6 separate regions of the Homo sapiens genome follow, and all the other regions are linked to region 1. Evidence: promoter capture Hi-C in 16 types of primary human blood cells and fetal thymus (Javierre and others, 2016). All regions are on one chromosome and are shown on one strand. The core of a region is centred on a gene start or on the middle of the fragment in contact, and the rest is flanking DNA. Distances in the headings are between cores, read along the strand shown. Region 1 holds the start of ANP32D (acidic nuclear phosphoprotein 32 family member D). Region 2 overlaps LOC102725258 (a long non-coding RNA gene). Region 3 has its middle 36 kb from the start of OR10AD1. Region 4 has its middle 54 kb from the start of OR10AD1. Region 5 overlaps LOC105369753 (a long non-coding RNA gene). Region 6 holds the start of LOC105369753 (a long non-coding RNA gene).

Region 1 (4,601 bases), core at 1,319-3,818:
GGGTTTCAGCAGCAGTGACTGCAGAACAGCGGATATTGGTGAACCGCAAATGCTGATGCCTGATTGTTCCTCTGGAAGTTTTGTCTCAGAGGAGTACCCGGCTGTGTGAGGTGTCAGTCTGCCCCTACTGGGGGGTGCCTCCCAGTTAGGCTACTCAGGGGTCAGGGGCCCACTTGAGGAGGCAGTCTGCCTGTTCTCAGATTTCAAGCTGCGTGCCGGGAGAACCACTACTCTTTTCAAAGCTGTCAGACAGGGAAATTTAAGTCTGCAGAGGTTACTGCTGTCTTTTTGTTTGTCTGTGCCCTGCCCCTAGAGGTGGAGCCTACAGAGGCAGGCAGGCCTCCTTGAGCTGTGGTGGGCTCCACCCAGTTCGTGCTTCCCGGCTGCTTTGTTTACCTAATCAAACAACTAACTTGGCAATGGCGGGCGCCCCTCCCGCAGCCTTGCTGCCACCTTGCAGTTTGATCTCGGACTGCTGTGCTAGCAATGAGCGAGACTCTGTGGGCGTAGGACCCTCCGAGCCATGTGTGGGATATAATCTCCTGGTGTGCTTTTTTTAAGCCCATTGGAAAAGCGCAGTACTAGGGTGGGAGTGACCCGATTTTCCAGGTGCCATCTGTCACCCCTTTCTTGGACTAGGAAAGGGAATTCCCTGACCCCTTGCACTTCCTGGGTGAGATGATGCCTCGCCCTGCTTCGGGTCATGCACTGTGTGCTGCACCCACTGTCCTGCACCTACTGTCTGGCACTCCCCAGTGAGATGAACCCAGTACCTCAGTTGGAAATGCAGAAATCACCTGTCTTCTGTATCGCTCATGCTGGGAGCTGTAGACCAGAGCTGTTCCCATTCGGCCATCTTGGCTCCTCCACCTGGCTCCATAAAATTGTTCTAAGCACAGAAATACATGTAGAAGAATTCTCTCATCATTTTTGTAAAACAAAGCATTCTAATATTTTACAGAACAAGATAGGACAGTTTTTTTTTCTTGTAAAGAAGTTGAAGTTTGAGGGTTTGTTTCTTCACTTTTAATTATTATTACCAAATCCATTTTCCTTGTAACTCACAAGACTGCCATTTTCAGCTCTCTGGCTCTTAAGCTCTCAAGAGTAACATCTGAGTCCTCTTTGTAGAAGGAAGCCCACCACGATCTGTGAAGGGGGAAAAGGGATGAGAGATGGGGAATGTCCCCAAACCAGTGCCAAAATACACCTTTAGGTTGCTATTTACAAACCAGGGTGTTGGATGCCTCTAGCAGTTCCGCGAAAAGCATGTGAATCAAAGCAAAAGCTATGGCTGGTGCTCAGACCCTTCTGGGTGTTGAGTAACCAAACTGAGACCAGCCGCGGACTTCCACCCAACCTGAGACTTGGAAAATACCAGGAAACATAAGAGAACTCCAAACCATCTTCTTTGAGAGCCAGGAACAAATGCTTAGTGTGTACTTAACTATTGCATTTACAGGGACAAAAACTGGACACAAGGAAAAAGTAGGGGGAAAAAATAAAGAGTGGCAGTAAAAATAGTATTTTATTCCACCCCCTCCTCCCCTCCCTTCCCTCACAACCCCCAGTACACTTTTCCTCTCTTGCTCCCACAGCAACGTTACAATCAGAAAAAAATAAGTTTCAGGGGGCAGGATTGGAGTGGGGGAGGGGATACGGCTAAAAACAGTAAAATCACAAAAGGAATTTTTCAAAATAGATTATTCCACTTAGGCATCGTCTTCTCCCTCATCTTCAGTTTCTTATTTTCGCTTCTGACCCCTTTCTTCTTCACCAAGCTCTTCTTCATCTTCCTCATCATCTACCTCTCCATTGTTATAACCTTCATCCTTCTCCTCCTCGTCTCCACTCACGTCCTCCTCTTCACGTTCCTCCTCCTCATCCTCGTCCTCCTCATCTTCCATTACCTGAGCATCTTCATCATACTCCTCCTCATCCTCATCCTCCTCCTTGTCATCCAGGCACTCCACAAAGCCCTCACCATCCGAGTTAGGGGCCTCCTTGTCATCCGGGTCACAGCCGTTGAGATATGTGAGTTGCAGGAGGAGCTTGAACATCTTTTCTCAGTAGTTGTTCAGGTTGGTTACCTCGCAAGTGAAAAGGTCTAAGCTCTCGAGGTTTTCTAACTTTTTCAGGGGCTCTATTGTGCTGAGGTCTTTAATTTTGTTGCCACTTAAATTTAGATGTATGAGGTTTGGACACTTTTCTGCCAATACTTCTAGGCCCACTGAGGCTCTGTTACTGCTTAGTTCAAGCTTCTTAAGTTTGTTTAACTTTGGCAAGTTTGCAATTGAGGTGAGGCCTATGTTGATTGTATTTAATAATTCCAGTTCTTCAAATTCATCTGTGAGGCCTTCCAATTTGCCTTCATTTGACTGACTGTTGTCCAGGAAAAGTTCTTTCACATCGGAGGGCGTCCTGTTCCGCAGCTCTAAATGAATCCATTTGCCCATCTCCATCTCTCACGCTTTCTCTGCAGAGGCTCCTGAGCCAGCGGAATTCAACCAATAAACCCCGAACCCACAACCGCACATTTGAAAGCTCAACCAGCTCTGCTGGGTTCTCCGAAAGTAAATTCTTAATTCCAAACACACCCAAAATCTATTATCTCCCATCACATTAAATTGTGCTATCATTCACCCAGTTGCTCCAAAACCTTAGAATAATGACTACTTCCTCTATTTTTCTATTTTACATCAGATAGATGTATTGGCTGTACCTTTACAGTGTATCCTAAATCTGATCACTTCTCATCATCTCTAGGCCACGCCATAGTATATATCTCACGGACTGTTGTCAAAGCCTCCTAACTAGATCATTCTTATCTTCCTGCAGCAGCCAGAATGCTCATTTTAAAATGCAGAAAACCCTAAAGACTCTGCCAAAAGGTTAATAGAGCTGATAAACAGTTTTAGTAAGATTTCAGGATACAAAATCAATATACAAAACTAGTAGCATTTCTATACACCAATAGTATTCAAGCTGAGAATAAATCAAGAACACAACCCCATTTACAATAGCCACAAAGAAAATGAAATACCTAGGAATACAGCTAACCAAGGAGAGGTGAAAAATTTCTACAAGGAGAACTACAAATCACTGCTCAAAGAAACCAGAGATGGCACAAATAAGTGGAAAAACATCCCATGTTCATGAATTGTAAGATCAATATTATTAAAACGGTCATATTCCCCAAAGTGGCTTACAGATTCAACACTATTTCTATCAAATTACCAATGTCATCCATCACAGAATTAGAAAAAAACTACTCTGAATTCACGTGGAACCAAAAAATAGCCTGAATAGCAAAAGTAGCCCCAAGTAAAAAGAACAAAGCCAGAGACATCACACTACCTGACTTCAAACTATCCTATAAAGCTATAGTAACCAAAACAGCATGGTATCGACACAAAAACAGACACATAGACAAATGGAACAGAATAGAAACTTCTGAAATAAAGCCTTACACTTAAAAATATCTGATCTTTGACAAGACCAAGAAAAACAAGCAATGGGGAAAGGACTTTCTTTTCAATAAATGGTGCTGGGATAACTGGCTAGCCATATGCAGAAGAATGAAACCAGACCCTTACCTTTCACCATACATAAAAACTAACTGAAGATGGATTAAAGTTTTAAATGCAAGACTTCAACCTATAAAAATCCTAGAAAATATGCCCCAAAGAAAGGAAATTAGTATATAGAAGAGATATCTGCACTCCTATGTTGGTTCCAGCACTGTTTACTAAGATTTGGAAGCAACCTAAATGTCCATCAGCAGATGGATGGATAAAGAAAATGTGGTGCATATACACAATGGAGTACTCGTCAGCCATAAAAATAATGAGATCCAGTCACTTGCAACAACATGAATGGAACTGGAGTTTATTATGTTAAGTGAAATAAGCCAGGCACAGAAAGACAAACATTGCATGTTCTCACTTATTTGTGGGATCTAAAAATCAAAACAATAGAACTCATGGAGGAGGGGCTGGGAAGTGTAGTGGGGGCTGTTGGGGGGAGATGAGGATGGTTAATGGGTACAAAAAAATAAAAAGAATGAATAAGACCTACTATTTGATAGCACAACAGGGTGACTATAATAAAAATAACTTAATTGTACATTTAAAAATAATTTAAAGAGTGTAATTGCATTATTTGTAACTTGAAAGATAAATGCTTCTGGGGATGGATACTCCATTATCCATGATGTGCTTATTTCACATTGCATGCCTGTATCAAAACATCCCATGTACGCCATAAGTATATATATCTAATATGCACCCACAAAATTTTAAAAAATTAAAAAAGAATAAATAAACATAAAAATTGAAAACAAATTCTAGAAGAAAACCTAGGAAATGCCCTTGTTGACATCAACCTTGGCAAAGAATTTTTGGCTAAGTCCCCAAAAGCAATTGCAACAAAAACAAAAAAAAATGGACCAGTGGGACCTAATTAAACTAAAGAGATTCTGCACAGCCAAAGAAGCCATCAGTAAACAGACTACCTACAGAATGGGAGAAAATATTTGCAAACTATGCATCTGACAAAGATCTAATATCAAGACTCTATAAGGAACTTAAATCAACAAGCAA
Region 2 (4,601 bases), core at 1,124-3,623, 250 kb after region 1:
ACCAGTCAATATTTTTCTCTGATGTTTCTTCTCTTTGGTTCCAGTCTTATTCATTGAGGTTACACAGACAAAGTAAATTCTCTCTTCTAAATGGAAAACCTGTAAACATCCATGTTTGGCTTTCAGCAAAAGAACGATAATAAAAATTAGAAAAATTTGTGAAACCCAAAATAACAATGAAACTACATATAATTTTGTGGAATATAACTAGGGCAGTAATTAGGGCAGAACTTTCTCTTAAAAGAAGTTAAAATTTTAAAAATTAGCAAACAACTTAATCACAGAATAAAATACATTATGCAAGGAAAGGGAAAGGAAGAAAAAATGCACATAATAGATGGATTGAACAAAATTCAAAGATTGATTAAACTAATAAAGGTCGAAGAAATTAATACTTTGACAGTTCTCTGGCATGATTTATGTTATAAAAAAACAGACTTAAATAAACAATATTAAAAATGAAAGGGGCACAGATGTTGCAGACTGAATTATAAGGGGGGCTTCTGCTTCTGATATTTATAGACAAGGTAATTTGGATCAACCATCTCAACAAAAACAACCAAAAGCTTGACACATTTTAAAATATCTACAATAAAGGCATTAAAGAACTAAAAATGCAGTGAAGAATTTTAGAGCCAAGATCCAGGAGCATTCACTATGTATTTAGCCACATTAGAAATAGCTGATGTCGCCAGGCGTGGTGGTTCACGCCTGTAATCCCAGCACTTTGGGTGGCCGAGGCTGGTGGATCACCTCAGGTCAGGAGTTTGAGACCAGACTGGCCAACATGGTGAAACCTGCCTCTACTAAAAATACAAAAATTAGCTAGGAGTGGTGGCGGACCCAGCTACTCGGGAGGCTGAGGCAGGAGAATCGCTTGAACCCGGGAGGCAGAGGTTGCAATGAGCCAAGATCATGCCATTGCACTCCTGCCTGGGTGACAGAGCGAGACTCTGTCTCAAAAAAAAAAAAGAAAGAAAGAAAGAAAGAGGGAGGAAGGGAGGGAGGGAGAGAGAGACAGAAAAAGAAAGAAAGAAAAAGAAAGAAAGAAGCAAAGCAAAGCAATAGCTGATGTAGCTGAGGAAAGAACTGGTAAAGTGAGTGACTCATGCCTGTAATCTAGACACTTTGGGAGGCTGAGATGGGAGGATCGTTTGAGTCCAGGAGTTCAAGACCAGCCTAGGCAACATGGCAAAACTCTGTCTCTACAAAAAATACAAAAAATTATCGGGGCGTGGTGGTGCAAGCCTGTAGTCCCAGCTACTCAGGAGGCTGATGTGGGAGGATAGCTTGAGCTCGGGAGGTCAAGGCTACAGTAAGCCATGATCATGCCACTGCACTCCACCCTGGGCAACAAAGCAAGACCCTGTCTCAAAAAAAAAACAAAAAACAAAAAAAAAACAAAAAGAAAGAAAGAATTGGTAAAGATGAAGGTATGTCATAAAGAAGATGAAAGAAAGAATGGATAGAGCAAAAGCAATATTTGAAGAGAAAATAGCTTGGAATTAAAGAGGCCTTAAATATCTTCAAAATATTTTATTTATAAAAAGAAAGCCATAGCTTGACACATCACTAGAACTTCTGAAAATGAAAGGCAAAGAGAAAAACTTAAGAGGAGCCTGAAAAAAAAAAAAAAAGGCAGATTACCTTCAAAGGAACCACGATCAGGTTGGCAGTGTTTTTCTCAATGATGCAAGTCAAAATATAAAATTTTCTTGTTTAAGATTCCATTGTAGCAGACTAGAGAAGGGTTGTAAGTCACAGTGATATGCTCCTGCTGGCCTGGAAGAAAACAAACATCCATGCTGTGAACTGCCTGTGGGGGCCGTGTGGCCAGGAACTCTAGGAGCTGAGACCAATCCCCAGATGACAGCTAGTAAGTCATACGACTGCAAAAAAATGATTCTGCCAGCAACCAGTGAGCTTGGAAGAAGACCAATGCCTCAGATGAGAATGGCAGCCCCAGATGACTCCTTGATTTCCACCTAGTGAGACTGAGCAGAAGACTCAGCTAGTTCATACCCAGACTCCCAACCCATGGAAATGGTGAGATAATTTTCACTTGTAATAGTAAAGAAAAATTGTAAGATAAATTTTAAGATATTGTAAGATAAGATAAAGCAAAAAAATCATATGATAAATTTTACTATAAGCCACTAAATTTGTGGTAACGTTACACTGCAATAGAAAACTAATATATGTTTTAATTTTTTTTTTTTTTTTTGAGACGGAGTTTCACTCTGTCGCCCAGGCTAGAGTGCTGTGGCGCGATCTCGGCTCACTGCAAAGTCCGCTTCCCGGGTTCACGCCATTCTCCTGCCTCAGCCTCCCGAGCAGCTGTGACTACAGGCGCCTGCCACCACAACCGGCTATTTTTTTTGTATTTTTAGTAGAGACGGGGTTTTACTGTGTTAGCCAGGATGGTCTCGATTCCCTGACCTCGTGATCTGCCCGCCTCGCCTCCCAAAGTGCTGGGATTACAGGCGTGAGCCACCGCGCCCGGCTGTTTTAAATATTTTTAAGAAAATACTATGGAAAATTTTATGCCATTAAATCTGATAATGTAGATAAATGAAAAGTTATTAGAAAAATATAATTTTCCAAGTTGAAGAAGAAATAGAAAAACATAAACACACATATAAGCATGAGATTAAATGAATAGTTTAAAAATATTTCTATAAAGCCAGACATATGATTTTAAGGCAGATACTATCAAACAATTAAGGAAAAAAATGCTAACTTTGACTATACTAGAACAAAAGGAAGTACCTCAACCTTTTTAGTGATGTAAATATAACTTTGAAACTAAAATTTGCCCCCGGCAAAAAAGATAATTTCACTCTTGGACATAGTTGCAAAACTCCTAAGCAAAATTTTAGCAAATTGTATATTACAATATATTTAAAAGATTATACCTTATATCATGACCAAAGTAAAGTTTATCCCAGTAATTCAAAGTTGATTTTTTATTTTTATTTTTTAATTTAATTTAATTTTTTTAGAGACAGGGTCTCTCTTTGTCACCCAGGCTGGAGTGCAATGGTGCAATCAGCCTCAACCTCCTGGGCTCAAGTGGTCCTTCTGCCTCAGTCTCCTGAGTAGCTAGGACTACAGGCATGAATCACCATGCCTGGCTAATATAAAAAAATTTTTTTTAGAGATGGGGTCTCGCTGTATTGCACAGGCTGGTCTCGAATTCCTGTCCTCAAGTGATCCTTCCACCTCAGCCTCCCAAAGTGCTGGGATTACAGGCATGAGCCACTGTGCCAGCCTTGAAGTTGATTTAACATTAAAAAATGAATTAATGTAAATTACCACAGGAACAGAAAATGAAAAATCACATAATCATCTTAAGAGATGCAGGAATGCCATCTATTTTATTGAAAATTCATGTCTGTTTGTAATTTTTTGAAAAAAATCTCAGCAGACCAGGAATAGAAAAGAACTTCCTTAAGCTATTAAAGTGATTATAAACCAAAACCGCATAGCAAACATCATCTTTAATAGTGAAACATTAAAAGCATTATCTGTAAGATCATGTCTACTTTGTTATTAATAAAGGTGATATTTTGACCTCTATCTGCAGACTCATTGTCTTATTTCTCAGTTGATTCAGAACCATATGGGAGAGTAATATTGTTTACTGTATCCCCCTCGAGGTCCCATACAATTATTTTAAGTGATATTATTATATGTGTGGAAATAAAATTGCAAACAAAGAAAACAATAGAGTTTTGGTTATAATTAAAATATACTCAGTCATAATAATGTCTGGCAGGTCCTGGAAGAAAAGAATGCTGGTGATACACATATTTTGCATTCTCAAAGTACAGTGCGGGTGAATTAAGGGACAGAAATCTGCATTCCATGACCACAGCAGCACAATGTACAAAGTATGCCATTGTAGACTAGACTGGTGGGAAAATGTCTTATTATAATGTAATGCTCTGATTCTTGTCATATTTACCTAAGAGGGGCAGGACAGTATTGAATACATTCAACAGCAACAATGTTTCTGTTGTTCTCTTAGCATGCTGTAAACACAGGAAATAAAATATAATACATATTTTATGGTTTATTATATGGAATCTGTTTTAGGAATGGGGTTAGTGCACTTACATTGTAAATGAACTCATCAATCTTGTTTAAATCATGTAGGGTCTTCTGTTAGAAAGCTTCAGCCTATGTGAGGCTTGACTATCTTCTTGTAGTCTGCTTTAAATAAAATGGGCCTCTCATAATTTCAAACCTTACACCACTTAAAACCTGGTTTATCTAATGCATACATAAATCTCTTACTTTTTCGATTAAATTAAATGCATCATTTCACGATGCAGAAAAACATCATTTTTTCTGGGTGAATAAACTTTATAGTAGAAAAATTTAATGTGGTGTTCATGGATCCCCAGGGAATCAACAGATATGTTTCAGAGTGTCCACGCATCTCTGAAATGTTGTAGGAAAAGTTGTGAGCAATAGAGCATTTTTCTTGGTGAGTCCACAATTTATCAGCTTCCCTAAGGCTGCTGGAACCCATGAAGGGTTAAAAATTTCTGTTTTGAAGTCACAAAGTTCCCACAAATTTATTTGGTCTGAAAATT
Region 3 (4,601 bases), core at 1-2,500, 230 kb after region 1:
TGTACAAATAACCACACTCTTAATATGCAGGTCCTAATCTATGTGTGGAGTAACTGGTCACTTTTCAACTATGTTTTCTCTCTACCTTTTAGGGTGTTTTTTTTTTTTTTTGGTGACAGAATGGGTATTTTTTTGTTTGTTTTTACAAATTATTTAAAGTACCTTCTAGGGGTGGCTACTGTCAGGAGAAGGAATCTATTCCAAGATTTGTTTGATATTTAATTTATTTGTAATTTAGATTGGGACTCTGGAGGGAAGATGATAAACAACTATCAAGTATTTAGGTGGAAAGAATAAGTGGATATGAGATCCATAAGCTTATCTGCTATCTCCCACTCATGTGGATGCTAGAGAAGTTTCCTTGTGAACAGAGCATGTACTTTTGCCTTTTCGATAGCAGTAAAAATGTGGCATGCCAAGCAAAATCCCTCAAAGTGTCAGTCAGATCATCATTAAATGTGAAGTGTAGTTCAGGGCTCCTCAATTGCAGAGATACGGAGAATTTGCAGTGGAAGAAACTACAAGAGGGCAAAATCTAGAATTGATGGAGAAAAGGGAAAGAAATCATATTTACCTCAAAAAAGGTCTAGATGATACAATAGAAAATACTATTATAAATTGACAAACTTGCCAAATTTGTCCATCACATGGTAAACAAAAGGTTAAACATAAATCTCAATTTTTGGTGAGGCTGGGACAACATAAATAAGACCAGAAGAAATGTAGGTAAGACATAGCCAGATATTTGATACCAGTATCCTTTTAGTTTCCATAACAATCTCAAAAGCTATTTAGACATTAATTCCATCAAGGCCTAAAGGGAGCAGACAAAGTATCCTAAAACGAATTCTCTTGTGAGCCTAAGTGATTAATTTTCAATATGTATATAAATTGTATATAAATATAAGTTCACATTTATTAAATTCATTACATCTTATATGTGATTAGATTATTTCAGTTATTTTAGAGTTTTCTATTTTTGCTTTTTTTATTATTCATTTCCTTATTCTGAGGGCTAATGTTCAGAGTTTTAAGTACAATATATGCTGAAAGAAGGTAAAGGAGATGTGATTTTCAATTAAATACATAAAGTATGTTTAAAAACCACTGGCATGATCTTATTATTATTTTTTTTATTTTACTTTAAGTTCTGGGATACATGTGCAGAATGTGCAGGCTTGTAACATAGGTATTTTTGCATCTGCTTAAGAGCCTGTCTTTTTTTCTCTTAATTTTAATATTTAAAGAAATTATCTCAGAATATGACTTCTGAAGTTTGTATATCTAAGAATTATTAAATTTGATGTATTTTGGTTAATTATACCATGAGTTTAAGCCTTCCAAATCCTTACACAAAGTATCACTTTCTACCTTAAAAATGTGAATTAAAAAATATACAAAACTAAAGAATGCTGAGTTTAAAAACAAATAGAAAATAGAGAAGAACATTAAAAAATAAATCGTTTATAGCTCCACTATCTGTAAGCAGCTACTCTTAACATTTTGGCTGACTTCCTTCCAATCCTTTATCTAATCTTCCTTCCAAAGCAAAGAAAATTTCTTTTTAATTATTGTAATCTAAATCTATTGTAATTTAAATAAAAATTTAATTATTGTAATTTAATTATTGTAATATGCCAAATATGCTGGTATATATTTTGCTTTTTATTTCACTTAAAATTATGATTTCAACATTATTACACAAAGTTCATAAACATAATTTTAATGACTGCATCACATTTCATTAATTTCATTTTCTATGAAATAGCTAATCATTCTCTATTATAGCTCTTAATTTTTTGCTATTATAAATATTATAAATAGTACTATAATACACAATTTTCTGCATAAATCCTTTTCTCAGTTGGTAGCTTCCTCAAGTAAATTTTTAAAATAGATAAATCTATTCATTTAGCAAACTTATATTGTACCACTGTTTGCTAGGCACTGTTCCCAAAAGTCCTATTATTCATTTAATCATCACAGTAATCCAATAATGTAAGTACTATTATGATTATTCTCATTTTAGAGATGAGGAAATCGAGATGTGCTGGTTTACATTACCCCTGTTTACATCGTTGATAAATGGAGGAGTCTGGATTTGAATCCAGGCCCTTGGACTCTGGGATCTGTGTGAGTATAGGGACTCCACATTAAAGGGAATAAACATTTTGAAAGCTTTTGGTACATATTGCCAAACTACTTTCCAGCCAACAATGGAGTATTAGCATTGATGTTATACTTTAATTTTTTTAATTTAATGGATCAGAAATCATATGTAATTGTTTTAAAACTATTGTTTGGTTACTAATGAGTTTGAATGCTTTTGGATGGTGTTTCCTCTTCTATCAATTGAGTTCTTATCCTTTTGTCCCTTAAGATATTGGTATTTTTGATGAACTCTTGATATCATAAATTTAATATATGGTTGACTCTTGTATTTGCTCATTTTTCTAATCAGTTACTTGTTAAAAATAAGTGAAGTGGCTTATTTTTATATACCAAAGTTTTCCACTTGATGTTAGTCAGATATGTCATCTTTCTCTTCATGACTTCTTCTATGATGTAGACAAAGTCCACAAGCTCAAACTCCACCACTGGTCAGAGAGATAATACAATGGGCTGATGTGGGGCTGATGTGGGGCTGATGTGGGCCCGATACAAGGCAACAGGTAGTCTTGAAACTGGGAAGAACTTGCAGCTTGTCCAAACAGGAGGAACACCACTAAATTCCAATTTGTTGTTGATAAGAATAGGCCCACTGTGGCAAGATCTGAATTTTTCCAGAATCCAGATTATTACATACAACATCCTTCAAAGGAAACACTGCAGGCTTAATAAAACATTGGGGTGGGACAGAGGGCTCATAACTTATCACTTTTGCCTCAGAAGTTCTCCATTCAAAATTTTAGATCAGTATTTAATTATATTTCCTTCCAGGTTTTTTAGTGAGTTTTTTATATATTCAAATTTTTATACTACTTGTACTTAGCATTATGGTGTGAAGCAAGCATCTAGTTGCTTCCATAAAACCAAGAAAGGAAAGAGATGGATTTATGTCTCAAAGTTCTCTTCCTTTGCAGAAGGATCAATGAAATGATGGAGAAATATTAAATGTTATGATAGTGGTTTCTCTAATCTTGAAGAAAAAGTTGCCTTTTTTCTCTGTATGATTGACTTACACTGAACACTCTCATTTCCTGAATTATAGTATATAATTTGCTTGTTTGCTTGAAATTAAGGCAGAAGGATCCATAGATAAATTGGAATTTAAAACTCCTTGAAATGCTCAAAAGAAAACTAACAGAAAGGGGAAAGTATCCAAAGTAATGCAAAACTTTCAGAGGATTAAAACAATCAATCTAATCTTGCATTAAATATTGCAGATTTGATAAGTGAATTTCAGGCAGATTTTAGTTAGTGGGCTTATAGTTAGAAAGTGATTAACAAACATCACATTGTTTAAATATTCATTTCCTTTCTCAAAAATCATTAATCAAAAGCTTACTCTGTGCTGGAGCAACAGTAGATGTTTTTGTCCTGCTATTACTATTTTGTAGTTTTTTTACCCTCACTTTTGTCCTGGGAGTGCTGTGATTCTGTGTTAATGAATACAAACATTAAAATTAGAATTATAAAACTGAGGGGTTAGTTTGGTCAGGTCTGCCTGTCCTGCTTGCTTTTGGTTGCTTGCTTTTTGTTATTTTTTATCTCTCCCTGAAGTTGAAGTCTGCAATCACTGAAGGGCATGCCACTGAATGCTGAAACGTAACCTTCACCAGCTACTTTATAGATAACATTCACAGGTCACCATGGTAACGGTTACTTCAGTTGTTTTTCAGAAACTTGGACCTGCTTCTGTCCAGTTCAAACTGGTTGAGACCACTGACCTTTTAACTGGGTCTGCTCAAGTGCTGGAGAGGCGGCCTTTTTATGTTGGAGGGCCAAAGACTCCATCCTCAGTCCATGCTAATGCTGCCATTTTCTGTACATATGTGCTGTGGAATGCCACAAACTCCAGCTAGGCTGTTGCAGAATGAACCTGTTACTTCATTTTTCCCCACTAGCAACCACCTTTCCCCACACCTTAGACCACCTCACTTCCCTAACCCATAAATACCCTTAAGCTTTATCTTTGGGGAGGCAGATTTGAGAGCTGTTCTCCCACCGCCTCCTCGCTGGGTGTCCTTTCGAATAAATCTTTTCTCTTTTGCAAAACCTGAATCATAGTGATTGATTTACTGCTTGAAGGTAGAACAGACCAGAACCTGGCATGTAACAATTATACCAGCAACAAAAGTTGTTGACAAGAAATTACTTTTAACAATTAATTTCATTAACCCAAATTAATTCCTTGATTAGTTTTCTACATAGCACACTTAAAGTATTTCCAATTTTGTCATGTGAATAAAATTACTATTTATGTTGTCATAAATAAACATGAATACAATGTCATGAGTAAAAATACTAAAATTATTTTGATCCGGATGAATTCATTTATGTGTAACTTATCAACACAGTCCTGTTTTAACAGTCTTTTGTTCAATTCAAATTTTACTATAACAGCTTCTACTACTGTGAGTTTTATTTTGGGGGCATTA
Region 4 (4,601 bases), core at 1,336-3,835, 220 kb after region 1:
CCTAACTGAAATTTATCCTTTTATTTAATTGTGACCTTAGCTAAGAAGCCACAGTAATATTAGCAGAACCTCTGACTTTGTCACCAGATATTTTTACATCACATTGCCAATGCTGCAGATATTTTAAAATATTGTTTAGACTCATCACTACTTCAGAATTCTGGTAATTATGAGACTTGCCACTAGATCACATGTTACCGTAGATACCTATGTGTAATCTTGTTATTAATACATATAAAACTTTTTATTTAGTACATATAAAGAAGCATACATGTTACATATACAACTGCGTTTTCTGTTTTTTTAAATTGTGGTAAAATATACATAGCATAAAATTTACCATTTTAATCATTTTAAGTGTCTGTGGCACTAAGTACGACCTATGTGCAAACATCTATCCAGCTCCAGAACTTTCTTATCTTTCCCAACTGAAACTCTGTACCCATTAAACAATAACTCTCCATTCCTCCTCCTGCCAGCCCCTGGCAACCATCACTCTGCTTTCCATCTCTATGAATTTGACTACTATCGACTATTTGGCTTTTATACCACCTATAAGTGGAATCATACAATATTCGCCCTTTTGTGACTGGCTTCTTTCACTAAGCACGATATCTTCAAGTTTCATCCATGTTGTAGCAGAATTTCCTTTCTTTTTAAGGCTGAATAATATTCCATTGTATGCTTATACCACATTTTGTTTGTCCATTTATCTATTGATGGCCACTTGGGTTACTTCCACCTTTTGGTTATTGTGAATAAGGCTGCTGTTGAACATGGGTGTGCAAATATCTTTTCAACCTGTGTTTTCCAAATGTAGTTTTGACAAAACTACATTGCAGCATATAATTGCTTTCCTTTCTAAACCTATGTATTGTGTCTTATTATTATTATTATTCGAGATGGAGTCTCACTCTGTCGCCCAGGCTGGAGTGCAATGGCACGATCTAGGCTCACTGCAACCTCTGCCTCCTGGGTTCAAGTGATTCTTCTGCCTCAGCCTCCCGAGTAGCTGGGATTACAAGCATGTGCCACCACGCCCAGCTAATTTTTGTATTTTTAGTAGAGATGGGGTTCCACCAGTTTGGCCAGGCTGGTCTCGAACTCCTGACCTCAGGTGATCCACCCACCTCGGCCTCCCAAAGTGCTGGGATTACAGGTGTGAGCCACCAGCCCGGTCTGTGTTTTACGAATTTTAAAACACTATTTTTTATTATTGCTATTTTCTTAGAGACAGGCTATCACCCCAGCTGGAGTGCAGTGGCATGATCATATGGCATAAACATATTCCATGCAGTCTCAAACTCCTGGGCTCAAGCAATCCTCCCACCACCATGACCGACTTTTTTTTTTTTTTTCTATAGAGATGGGTATGTTACCCATGCTGGTCTCAAACTCTTGGCCTCAAGCTATCCTCCCACCTCAGCCTCCAAAAGTGCTGGGATTACAGGAGAGACTCACCACAACCCGGCCCTGAAAACATCATTCTAAGAAAGGGATTACAATCTTCAGTGGAGGTTCAACACTCCCTGGCATAACAGGAATCCCCAAAGTAGAAAATTTAAGCAATGGAACATAAGAAATCCTAAAAACTATAACAACAATAAAAAACTTTCCTAAAATAAAAAAATTACTTGAATGTCCATGTAAGAAGAAAATACTGTGTACCTGAGAAAATGGATTCGGAATGGTCACTATCAAGACATAGTCTGTAAAATAATAAGATTTTAAACAAAATTTTTTAAAAACCCTCTGGGCATCCATACAAATAGACAAAGTCACTGATAAGGGAAAAAAACCAGATTGTCATCACATTGTCAGTAATAATGCTGTACACCAGAAAACAACAGATTAACGTATTTTAGGCAGTCAAGATAGAAAAGGTGAGCCATGAATTATCTAACTAAACTGAACTTTAACTATAAAGATCACACTCAAGCTGTTATGTATGCAAGAACCCAAAAGAATTTTTTGCTGAGGAATCTATGACAGAATAAGCTTCAGACAATCAAAGTGATTGGAGAGGTATTGATGTAGCGACTGGTAGGTAATCGAATAATTGATGAGAGGAATTTTCTCTCTAAAGTCAAAGATGAAATAATAGAATTAGAATATCAACATTTTACAGCCCATAATGAATTCCTGGACCTAACAATTATTAATAGCTGACAGCACAAAAAGAGAGAAAGTCAGACATTATATGCTTCCTGGTGGAAGTATCCAACACCAATTATAAAGCAGTCTTAGAAGAAAAAAATCAAACATGAACCTGATAAGCCTCTAGATCTAATTGCCAATTTACAGAAAATACATGGGACAGAATAATGTTAAAGACCACCACAGAAAGGCAATCAGCAAAATCCCAAGTATGTAACATCATTCAGGACAAATAATCTGATTTATTCAACAAAAGTTAGAATAATAAGAAAAATATATGGCAGAAGAGCAGTATAGATTAAGAGACTTACAGATACATCAACCAATCACAATATAGAAGATAATTAGGAAATATGGACATTGACTGGACTTGAAGTTATTAAGAAATTTTAAAGAATTTTTAGGTAAGATAACGGTGTGATTGTGATGCTAATTTTAAGATTTCTTATCTTAGAAATACATACTGAAGTATTTATGAATGAAATTGTATGATGTTTGGAATTTGTTTCAAAATAATTTAGTGGAGATTAGAGAGTGAGGTGAGGGTATAGATGAAACAAGATTGAAGATGTGTTGGTCACTGTTGAAGCAGAATGATGGGAACATAAAAATTTATTCTATTCTATTTTTTGAATATCTGAACATTTCCATTAAGAGCATTATTTAAAATAAAATTAAAACATCAAGATGAAAAAGTTTTCTTGGAGAGATTGGGAATAAATTAAAAATAGATGTGTAGAAACCTAACCAAATGAGAAAAAGTAAAAAGTATACCACCCTGGACAACAAGATGAAATACGTCTCTAGAAAAAAAAATTAACCAGGTGCAGTGGCAAGCACCTGTATTCCCAGCTACTCAGGAGGCTTAGGTGGGAGGATCGCTTGGGTTCAGGAGTTCGAGGCTGCAGTGAGCTAAAATCACGCCACTGCCCTCCAGCCTTGGTGAAACAGCAAGTCCCCCTCTCTAAACAAGAAAAGAAAAAGGGATTTACTCCAGGAAAAACAAAAAGCTTTACAACCAGAGAATATCCTAATTCTATTTGGCTCAGTTAGGAAATATATTAACATAAAAATTAAATATTACTTAATGTAAAAGAAAAATGTTACTAACATGTATAAGTATAAATTTTGTTATATTATTTTCCACAAAAAAGAAAAAATAGATAATTTGGTCTTTACCGTAGTTAGTTGAAATCCATTTTTTATCATCAAAAGTTTAGGCCGGGCGCGGTGGCTCACGCCTGTAATCCCAGCACTTTGGGAGGCCGAGGCGGGTGGATCATGAGGTCAGGAGATCGAGACCATCCTGGCTAACAAGGTGAAACCCCGTCTCTACTAAAAATACAAAAAATTAGCCGGGCGCTGTGGCGGGCGCCTGTGGTCCCAGCTACTCGGGAGGCTGAGGCAGGAGAATGGCGTGAACCCGGGAAGCGGAGCTTGCAGTGAGCCGAGATTGCGCCACTGCAGTCCGCAGTCCGGCCTGGGCGACAGAGCGAGACTCCGTCTCAAAAAAAAAAAAAAAAAAAAAAAAAAAAAAAAAGTTTAAAAAAGATTTCTCAGCTTCATGGCTCCAGTTATTACATCCAGTAATGTCATGTAAAATTTTAAAATGGATGTCAAATTTGAAAAAAATCTCTCAATTTTTATGACGTGTTGCACTATGAAATGTAAAGGCTTTGCAAGTTTTCTTGTGCAGTGACTAATCTTCAACACTCTTTTCCTAACAATGTCATTAATGTTCTTATTGCAGTGGTATAATGAGTTTAAAATTATCTCCATTGATGTCAATTTTTTAAATAGTCTTTTAATATACTAAGAACATTAAAATACTTTTTTAATGTATTAAAATATTGCTAATACTTTTAATGACATTGTCATTAATATTCTAATTGAAATGCTGTCACGAGTTTAATCTTATCTCCATGGATGTCAACATTTCTTGTCAAATTAGCAATATATTTTAATTATTTCCAGTTTGCTCATATGACTTGTTACTGTGTTATCAAATAATGTAAAAGCCTAACCATTTCTTCTATTTGAAATTTGTCTCCTTCTGTTAATCAATTCATGCTATTGTATGATAAGAATTTTTGTTACAGTTAGCATCTTGATGTCAAGATAATTTCTACTGATTTCATCTTTCATCTTTCTGTCTTGTGTTTCAGTCTGTTAATTTTTTTACTGAATTTCCCCTTGGTTCTTTAATTTAAAATTTTCAAGTTAACAGAGTAAGAAATCCTTCATATATTTCCATATCAGTAGTCTATAATATTTCACCTTGCATTTTTGGAAATATTCCAAATTACAGTTAATTTGCTTTATCATTTTTTTAATTTTTAATTTTTGTGGGTATATAGTAGGTATATATATTTATCGGATAAAGGAGATATTTTGATACAGGCTTGCAATTTGTAATAATCACATCATGGAAAATGGGGTATCCA
Region 5 (4,601 bases), core at 574-3,073, 180 kb after region 1:
ACACACAAATTCAATATACAGAATACTGGTAGGTGGTTTTTGAGAATTATCTGGCAGAAAACAAAGTAGTGAACAGTGAGGAAGGACTTTATGATGGGGCTAGCATCCCTTCTTTGTCTTTGGAAGATTTATATTTCTTTTGGGCCCCTAATCCTTTGCGAGACAGGTTAGTGATTCTTTCCTGAGGTTCCATAGCTCCCAATATTTATCTGCCTCTTTGCTTGAAGTTATAAACTATGGTAGGACAGCAGAGGTCACGATAGTAAAGGATGAAACTGGAAGTAGAAGCCAGGGCAACAAATTCAAGTAGAGATTGCAAGGTCCTTCAGCTAACTCTCTGTACTCTCTATCTCAATGGATCTTAGGCTTTAGGCCAGAATCTTTCAGAAATTTCTTTAATGTCACTAACAACGTCTGAAAACAGGTCTTTTCCCTCTTCCCCTTCCTCTTGTTTCTTAGGGTTATGCAAAATTTAACTCAATATAACAAGAAGTCTTAATCCTGAATGCTATAGGAACAAGAAATGGTCTTCTGGTTGCAATCTAGAAACAGGACCAGGAAGTCCTTCTGATGGGGTTGGCTGGCATCATTGAGTCCACAGTAGAGAAAACTGATACCTAACCTGAAGAACTGCCCTAAAAAGAGGGGTTACAGCATCTGCATCCCAGATTGTGGGAACAGAGATGGCCCAGGTAAACGAAGGGAAATGTTTCAGTAGGTTAATCCCAATATAGATGAATGGGGCAGAGAATAGTTTATCACTTCTATCCCTCTGCATCCACCCAAAACTTCTTAATCTCACCTGAGGCAAATTCAGATTGGGACAACCCTAAGTCTCAATGTTCTCAAGGCCCACCAAGAGAAGCTCTCAAAAGCAAAATACCTTTCTAACTAAATTTTATGGAAAATAGATCCAGATTTCAAGTTAATGATGAAAAAATACATTTTAGCTTTCATTTTTCTAGGGTTGTTAGTAGTACTACCTTTGGGAAGATAGAATAGTAGTGAGGAAAATCAAGATATTACTAGTTTTTAGTGATTTTCTTCTTTTCTGGATCATCCACCTTCCTAGTTTTCCACTCTTCCCACTGACAGTAATTCTAGAGACTGGAACATGACATCCCCAGATGGCATTTTCTTATAGTCAAATCCTAAGTAAGTTTTAATTATCTTTGTTTCTATTGAGAAAAACAATAGGCTATAAGTTTATGATTCAGAAATCATAAGGCTGAAGAATGGGGACTACCATGAAATGTCATGATAAAATTTGACAAAAAGCTTTGATGGTGTGAGGCTATAAGAGGTGATTTTCTGAGAGTTTGGAGTGTGTGTTTGCTTGTAAATGTGTATTTCTGGAGTATGATCTCAAAAAGGTGCTAAAAGAGGAGATATGCTCAGACATATACCCATCCTGTGATGCTGAGTTTTTAAGTCTCATTACACTGAAAAGGTTTTACAGTAAACTTTTTCTTTAAAAGGCCGGTTAGTAAATATTCATTACTTTGCTGGCCACCTGGTCACTGTCACAACTACTCAAACCTGCCATTGTAGCACAAAAACAGCCAGAGACCAAATGTAAACAATTGAGCAGGGATATTGAAATATGAATTTCATACAATTTTATGTATCATAAAATGTTATTATTTTGATTTTTTCAACCATTAAAAAATGTAAAACTATTCTTATACAAAAATAGGCTGCAGGCTGAGTTAGCTTAAGAGTTTTTCTAAGTCTACAAAATTTCATTGTGCATTTTGGGAAGAAACAGGGCGTGGGTTGTAGTGTCAACTGTGAGCGTTTACAAGGGGAGAGCAAGCTGGATATTCCAAGTGAATATCCAACTTAAATATAGGACAAAATCAGACATTATGGCCCCTCTTGATTAACAGAATATGTGCACACTAAGAATAAAGACAAATAGTACTAAAAGACGTTGTAAATACTAAAAGACGTGGTAAGTATACTCTATGACATTTGCATAATGACAACATTAGCTAATGACACATTTCTCAAAACTTTTCCCCATTGTTAAGCAACACATGGCTATATTGTGGTGATAGTTTCCTCCCACATGATAGTCTCTTTGGCTCTTTTTCTTACTTCCTAGGAGATATCCTTAACTTTATTTCCCAACTATTCTATTGAGATTTCCATTTCTCTTATCATGTTTAATTCTAAGAACTCTTGTTTGTTTTATAATATCATTTGTATAGCATCCTGTACTTGTTTTGTGGATGCAGTTTATCTCTCTGAGTATTTTTCGGTTTTGACTTTTGTTTTCTTCTCTCTGCATATTCTCTGTTTCCTCCAAAGTGCTTTTTTTTTCTATTAGTTTGGTTTGGTCTTTATCTTTTATATCGGAAGCTTTCCTCATTTGTCTGGTGATACTTGGTTGTCTGTTTACAATTAGAGTGGAAGACTGTAATATGAATTGGAATTCTGAGTGCTTTGGCACTTATCAACTTATCAACTTTGAGCTGTTTTATTGGTTAATCAGGTAGATTCTTTTATTGAGAAGCCCTAATATAAATATATTTAGGTCTTTCCTCTTGAGCTGCTCTGATTCATCAGTTAAGACTCTTTCAGTCCTTTACCTGGAGGGTAAATACCTGGTTACCAACATTCTGCAATTCAAATGGGAGAAGAGATCTGGAAATCTTAGCACTCAAAAGGCGTATATTTCTTTTGTCTCTCTATTTTGCACATAGTATTAATATCTTCAAGTAGACCTGGTGTATCTGCAACAAAATTACTCTGTTTCTCCAAAGAATAAATTTTCAATTTTCTGTTAGGGTGGATAACAGATTGTTCTCACAGCTATGTGCAATGGGGGAAGGGATAAAGTAATTTAAACGTTTTTAAAAATTTTTTCAACCAATTCTTCTTTCTTAACTTTCACCCCCCCACCCTTCATTCCTAATTTCCAGAGGATTTTACAATGTACATCACAGTTAGTTCTTGGTCCCATTCCCCTACCTAGCTGCTGTACTGGAATTTTTCTTTCTTAGCTTTGCAAAATCAAATATTACACATCTATCTGTTTATCTGTTTGCAAAATTTCATTGCTCAGGATTGTTTCCCCTTCTACTCAGAAATGCTGTCTTTTTATTTTCAGTTGACATGTAATAATTATACATATTTATGGGGTATAGAATGATATATCAATACATGTATAAAATGTGTAAAAGTCAACTCAGGCTAATTAGTATATCACCTCAAATATTTATCATTTCTTTGTATTATGGACATTCGAAATTCTCTCTTCTAGATTTTTGAAAATATACAATAAATTATAGTTAACCATATTTACCCTACAATGATGCATAACACCGGAACTAATTCCTCCTATATATCTATAATTTTGAATTTGGTTTTGTTTGTTTGTTTGTTTTTGAGACGGAGTCTCACTCTGTCACCCAGGCTGGAGTGCAGTGGCACGATCTCAGCTCACTGCAACCTCCAACTCCCAGGTTCAAGCAATTCTCCTGTCTCAACCTCCGAAGTAGCTGGGACTATAGGAGCACACCACCACACCTGGCGAGTTTTTGTATTTTTAGTAGAGACGGGGTTTCACCATATTGGCCAGGCTGGTCTCAAACTCCTGACCTTGTGATCCACCCGCCTTGGCCTCCCAAAGTGCTGGGATTGCAGGCGTGAGCCACCGTGCCCTTCCAATTTTGAATTTGTTAACCAACCTCTCCTCCTCTCCTCTTGCATTCCCAGCCCCTAATATCCGAATTATACCCTCTACTTCCATATGCTAAAAATTTTTTTTAGCTCACACATATGAATGAGAACATGCAGTATTTACCTACCTGGGCCTGTTTTGCTTAACATGTCCTCCAGGCTCATCTATGTTGCTGCAAATGACAGGATTTCATTATTTCTTATGGCTGGATGATATTGCATTGTGTATGCATACCATATTTTCTTTATCATCTACTCACGGACATTTGATTCCATATCTTGGCTACTGTGAATGGTGCTGCAATAATCATGGAGATGTGGGAATCCCTTTGCTATATTGATTTCCCTTCCTTTGGATAAATACCCAGCAGTGAAATTGCTGGATCATATGGTAGTTCTACTTTTGGTTTTTTGAGAAACCTCCATACTGTTTTTCATAATGGCTATGCTAATTTATATTCCCATCACCACTGTATAAGAATTCTCTTTTCCCCACATCTTCATCAGCATTTGTTATTTTTGTCTTTTTGATAATAGACATTCTAACTGGGGTGACATGATATTTTGATTTTGATTTGCATTTCTCTGGCAATTAGTGTTGTCAAGCATTTTTTTTTTATGTTTTTTGGCCATTTGTGTGTCTTCTTTTGAGAACTATCTACTGAGTTCCATTGCCTGCTTTTTAGTGGAGTTTTTTTTATTTTTTCTTTCCTTTTCCTTCTCTCTCTCTCTTTTTTTTTTTTTTTGCTGTTGAGATATTTGAATTCCTTGTATATTCTGGATGTTCATTCCTTATCGAATGAATAGTTTGCAAATATTTTCTCCCATTCTACAGGTTGTCTCTTCACTCTGCTGATTATTTCCTTTGCTGTGCAGAAGGATCTTCAGTTTAATGTAGTCCCATTTATCTATTT
Region 6 (4,601 bases), core at 600-3,099, 160 kb after region 1:
CAAACAGGAAACGCAAGAAAGGGAGTGTTGGCTGCCTGGCTGCTGACAAGCTAATCACAGGACTCAGTGACCTTCAATGAAGAGGGCTTTACTGGACTCATCTCAGTGAAACCTGCACAGGAATGAGATACAGGAGAACTACCAACGTGGTATCACTTAGGCATCATATGGGCAAACTCCGTTTGATCTCTTGGTTAGAGAAAGAAGATGAGTTGATGACAGAAGATGAAATTTCCCAAGTATTTGTATGTTCTACTTAAAAATCAAAGGGTCAAATCTTAAGTAGGACATTTTTAGGTAAAATGTAAAAGTCAACACAATTGTGCAAAAATGGAGATAAGTCATCTTAGAGAAACACTCAATGAATATCATCAGTGCAAGGTCTAACCTTATTCAACACAAGAAAATTCAAACTGGTGAATTTTCTGCTCTGCATATAACTAATATGAAAAATGTTTCAGTAGTAACTCTTAATTTCTGAGGTACATGTGAATACAAAATGGAGATAAACCTTATGAATGTAAGGACTGCAGAAGGCCTTCAGTTATCACTCATCCCTTTGGATACATATTATAATTCACATTAGAATAAAGCACAATGACAGTAAGCAGCATTTTCAAGTCTTTAGCATTAGATCTGTCCTTAGAGGAGAGAAGAGAATACTGAGGAGAATCTCTATAAATGTGATTGATACAGAAAAGTTTTCAGTGTAAGTTCTACTCCCATTGTGTTCATGAGAATTCACACTGGGGAAAAACCCTGTAACTGTCATGATTATACTGGAAAAATATTCAGGAAGCACTCACGTTTGATGTACACGAGAGCGCAAACTGGGGAGCTCAAACTGGGGACATATTGATTACAGCTTTTCCCTTACAGTGTACAAGAGAATACAAAATAGAATGCAAAGATGGTGGGAAAGCCTTTAGTATTACTTCATCCCTTAGAAAACATGAGAAACCACACTAGTGAAAAGCCCTATGAATGTAATCAGTACAAAAAATCCTTCCAATATAATCCTTCATTTACCACACATAAGAGTATATAATGGGGAGAATCCCTATGAATGTGGAAAAGCACGTATTGATCTTTCATCTGTTAGGCACATGAGACAATTTATATTAGACATCTTATGAATGTAACCAATGAGTACGGGACAATTTCTCTGTCCTTAGGTAATCAATGAGCAGTTGCAGCAAAGAGAAACACTTCGAATGTCATCAGTGTGAATGAGCCTTTCATTTTGCACAAGACAAATCACACAACAGGAATATATAAGCAATGGGTATCCTTCATCCATTGGAGAAGAATCTTTTAATATAATCAGCAAGGCTGGCTTCATGGGCATGTTACTACACAGGGCTTCAAGCTTGGGTTTTAATGCTGAAGTTGCCGTCTTACAATTCTTAATTTAGTTTTGAATTTGTGTTTTGTAAGTGAAGTCTTATGGAACCATGTAACATGTACTAGAAGCCCTAAAGCTCATGCAAAGACCTCCCGCCACCTCCTCCATTACTGGGGAAAGATTCTATATAACCATATACACAAGACCTCTAAAATTATTTTTACAGATAAATAGTATACAAAAATGTTTTTTTCACACTAATATATACAAGTATGCCAAAAAGAGACACAGCCTTCTTTACAAATCCCAAAATAAATAAACTCATGGATCCAAGGACTTAGGCTAGAAATATGAATCATGTAACAATACTGCAACCACAAGCCTGCTACAAAACTTAACAGATAAAAGAGCTAACTTTACAAAGCACCTAAATTGGTTCAGAAGTTATACTCTTTAAAACAGAGAATTCTATTAATACACTGTGCTAGATAAACATTGATCTAGCACTAATTGCCACAGGATGACAGCAAGTCCTAGAAACAAATCCCACATATTTCAACCCCCACCTCCATCACCACCAGAAGCAATTTGTCCCTCAAAAACCAGACAGCTCTGCTATAATAGCAGCTTTGATGGGCCAATACTTCAAAGGACAACTCCAACTTAAAATCAACCCAACATTTTTGCTATATGGAAATATTTGGTAAGTTTTTCCTCTAACACTGGATTCCTGTTCACTTATCAGCTTCCATATTTCTCAGATTTCAGAAATATTGAGATGTTCTTTCTCCACCACTCACTTCTAATTTCCCTTATTGGATGCTTGGGAAATACTCGCCTTCATCATACTTGTCCCACTGTCTTATATGCTGCTTTCTTCAACCATCAAAAGAATAAATAAAATTTACAGTTTATAATTATGTTTTAAACTATTTAAAAAAAAACCAATGGGGAAAAAGTCTCTAGGGCTTCTATGAAGCTTTTGGAGAGAAAAATGTATTTTTAAACCTTAGCAAAAAAGTTGAATTTCAGGACTAGTATCTGAAGGCCTTAATTAACCAGAAGAGGATAAAATATCCTTCATCTCATGTCTTAGAACTCTAAAATATGACTTTCTAGAAGACAAGGACCAGGCTACATGTGACTTACATTACAAAATGTTTGTTTTGTTGAGTTATTATGTTGACACTTATAAACTTTCAGATACGGTTGCTACTTTCTCCTAGTCCACTAGTTGCTTACATATAGCCATTCTTCATAAGCCCGTCACCTAAATGGGTCTTTTCTCCATGATCCATTTGCCTTAAAATCCCTAAGACACAAGTACCAAGTCTCTTCATCATGCACCAATAATAACAGCAATGCCTACAGTTGGATAAAACTGAAGAAGGTATCCCTAGTCCTAAAAACTTCGAAATAATATGTTAAACTAATTCTGTCCTGTCTGCAGCTCCTGAACTTCAACAGTTATTTTTCTTTTTAAATAATAGTTATATCCTACTTTTCTGACTCATTAATATAAGTGCATTGCATAGAATGTAGAAAATACAAAAAGTACTACAGACCAGGGGTCCCCAATCTCCAGGCCACCAACCGGTACCTGTCAGAAACCAGGCAGCACACCAGGTGGTGGGCAGCCAGCATTACCTCCTGAGCTCTGCCTCCTGTCAGATCAGTGGCGACATTAGATTCTCACAGGATCAGCACCCTATCGTGAACTGCTCATGTGAGGAATCTAGGCTGCCCACTCTTTATGAGACTCTAATGCCTGATGATGAGTTTCATCCCGAAACCATCTCCCCAACCCCCGTTCTCCCCAACGCCCCCGTCCATGGAAGAATTGTCTTCCACAAAAGTGGTCCCTGATGCCAAAAAGGTTGGGGACCGCTGCTACAGACTAAAGAAAACAAAGTGTGCATATTCCTAAGGCCTTATAAATGAAATCACCTACTCTGAAGAAATTAAAGCAGACCTTTTTTAGAAAGAGAAAAAAAGTGAGGGAAGGGAGAGAGCCCCCAAATAAGTTAAGAATCCAAGGAGGCTTGCTCCTCTAATAGTCACCAAAAAGTAGGGGCTTTTCACTTCCTAAAAGAAACGGAAATTTTCCCAAAGAAAATGGAATACGCAACACATCCTCTGCTTATTCCATCTTTCTTCTGTTCACTTTACCTGCACTGATGGTATAATGGGCCTTTTTCTGCCTCTTCCATTTTTAGGAAAACGTTTGTCTTCAGAAAACCTCCATTCCCGGTTCTTCTGAAAACAAAAATTAAGTCTAAGAATTATTTAAAAGATTAAGAATTTTCAAAAATTCTTAATCTTTCCCACCCTAGACGTGTGGGCTCATAACAGGAAGACTTCATAGTGACATGGGCAGAAGGCACCAGGGGAGCTGGAGGGGCCCTCAGGAGGCCAGGGGAGTCCCAAATTCACACGGTAGCTCACAGTACTGGGGAATCTCCTTTTCAGAGATGGATGAGCCACTCTTCCACTCTCCCAGAGCTGCCTGGACAGAGAAAGGTAGGCCATGGGCCTTGAGATCCAGGAAAGCACATGCTAAACGGCACAGAAGCCCAGGGATTAGGGTGCTACTTCTATCCAAGAAGGAAAACAAAACAAAACAAAACCAAAAGCCAAAAAACTGAAATTCTCCTCCCAGGAGTCTCAGCGCGGTGGGAAGCAAGTCCGTTGGCCGAGAGAGCCGCCGTTCTCCTGGCTCCGCCCCACCGCAGTCCGCTCTTATTTCCGGAGGTGGAAGAGAAATGGCTCCTTAGACCCTTGCTGGGGATAGTTACTGAAAGGGGCACTTTTTTCTTTTACAGCCCATAAAGAGCGCTTTCCCGTAAGGAGAAGCAGAATAACAAAAAAGACAAATTGTCAAAGGGCAAAATGTACTCATTTGGATAAGGCCCCAGAGCGAAGGGAACACAAGGGGGATGACTTCTGCGAGGTTGAGGATTGAAAGATACTGGCCAAATGGATGCCTGAGACTTTTGGAGTTGAGGAGGAGATGCTAACCAAAGGGCTAGGCTGGGTAGAGAACAGGAAACAAGACGTTTAGTTAGAAGGAATGGCATAGGCAGAGACAGCCTTTCTCCACCATACAATGCAGACTTTTTATTTTATTTTGAGACAGGTTCTCGCTCCGTTACCAAAGGCTGGAGTGCAGTGGTGCCATCACGACTCACTGCAGCAGCCTTCACCTCCCCGAGATCAGGCGATTCTTCCACCTCAGCTACCCCAGTAGCTGGGACTA

Evidence for each region. The method cuts DNA at HindIII sites, captures the fragments that hold promoters and counts their contacts. A CHiCAGO score of 5 or more calls a contact.
Region 2: a fragment that was not itself captured here is called in contact with the fragment with the promoter of ANP32D in region 1 in 3 of 17 cell types (erythroblasts, endothelial precursors and non-activated CD4 T cells); the score reaches 6.2 in erythroblasts.
Region 3: a fragment that was not itself captured here is called in contact with the fragment with the promoter of ANP32D in region 1 in 4 of 17 cell types (endothelial precursors, megakaryocytes, naive CD4 T cells and 1 more); the score reaches 7.8 in endothelial precursors.
Region 4: a contact is called between a fragment that was not itself captured here and the fragment with the promoter of ANP32D in region 1, in 1 of 17 cell types (endothelial precursors). The highest score is 8.9, in endothelial precursors.
Region 5: a contact is called between a fragment that was not itself captured here and the fragment with the promoter of ANP32D in region 1, in 1 of 17 cell types (endothelial precursors). The highest score is 5.4, in endothelial precursors.
Region 6: a contact is called between a fragment that was not itself captured here and the fragment with the promoter of ANP32D in region 1, in 2 of 17 cell types (endothelial precursors and erythroblasts). The highest score is 6.5, in endothelial precursors.

The regions. Positions count from the first base shown.
Region 1 is chr12:48,470,526-48,475,126 of GRCh38, reverse strand. ANP32D (acidic nuclear phosphoprotein 32 family member D) reads right to left here and starts at 2,568. Exons shown (of 1, transcript NM_012404.3): 1 at 1,505-2,568. The coding sequence starts at 2,462. The coding sequence ends at 2,067. It also overlaps a transcript of C12orf54 not described here. The HindIII fragment of the contact is 4,760 bases long and covers 2,261-4,601 here.
Region 2 is chr12:48,219,107-48,223,707 of GRCh38, reverse strand. It overlaps LOC102725258 (a long non-coding RNA gene), which reads right to left. Exons shown (of 3, transcript XR_001749122.3): 2 at 1,648-1,782. Among named protein-coding and RNA genes, the nearest start is that of OR10AD1, 18 kb to the right of the region's middle. The HindIII fragment of the contact is 3,609 bases long and covers 569-4,177 here.
Region 3 is chr12:48,236,635-48,241,235 of GRCh38, reverse strand. It overlaps a transcript of LOC102725258 not described here. Among named protein-coding and RNA genes, the nearest start is that of OR10AD1, 36 kb to the right of the region's middle. The HindIII fragment of the contact is 1,861 bases long and covers 320-2,180 here.
Region 4 is chr12:48,254,620-48,259,220 of GRCh38, reverse strand. No RefSeq gene overlaps it. Among named protein-coding and RNA genes, the nearest start is that of OR10AD1, 54 kb to the right of the region's middle. The HindIII fragment of the contact is 1,169 bases long and covers 2,001-3,169 here.
Region 5 is chr12:48,289,657-48,294,257 of GRCh38, reverse strand. All of the region lies in intron 3 of LOC105369753 (a long non-coding RNA gene), which reads left to right. Among named protein-coding and RNA genes, the nearest start is that of H1-7, 37 kb to the left of the region's middle. The HindIII fragment of the contact is 1,086 bases long and covers 1,281-2,366 here.
Region 6 is chr12:48,306,916-48,311,516 of GRCh38, reverse strand. LOC105369753 (a long non-coding RNA gene) reads left to right here and starts at 4,088. Exons shown (of 4, transcript XR_944923.3): 1 at 4,088-4,187. The HindIII fragment of the contact is 955 bases long and covers 1,372-2,326 here.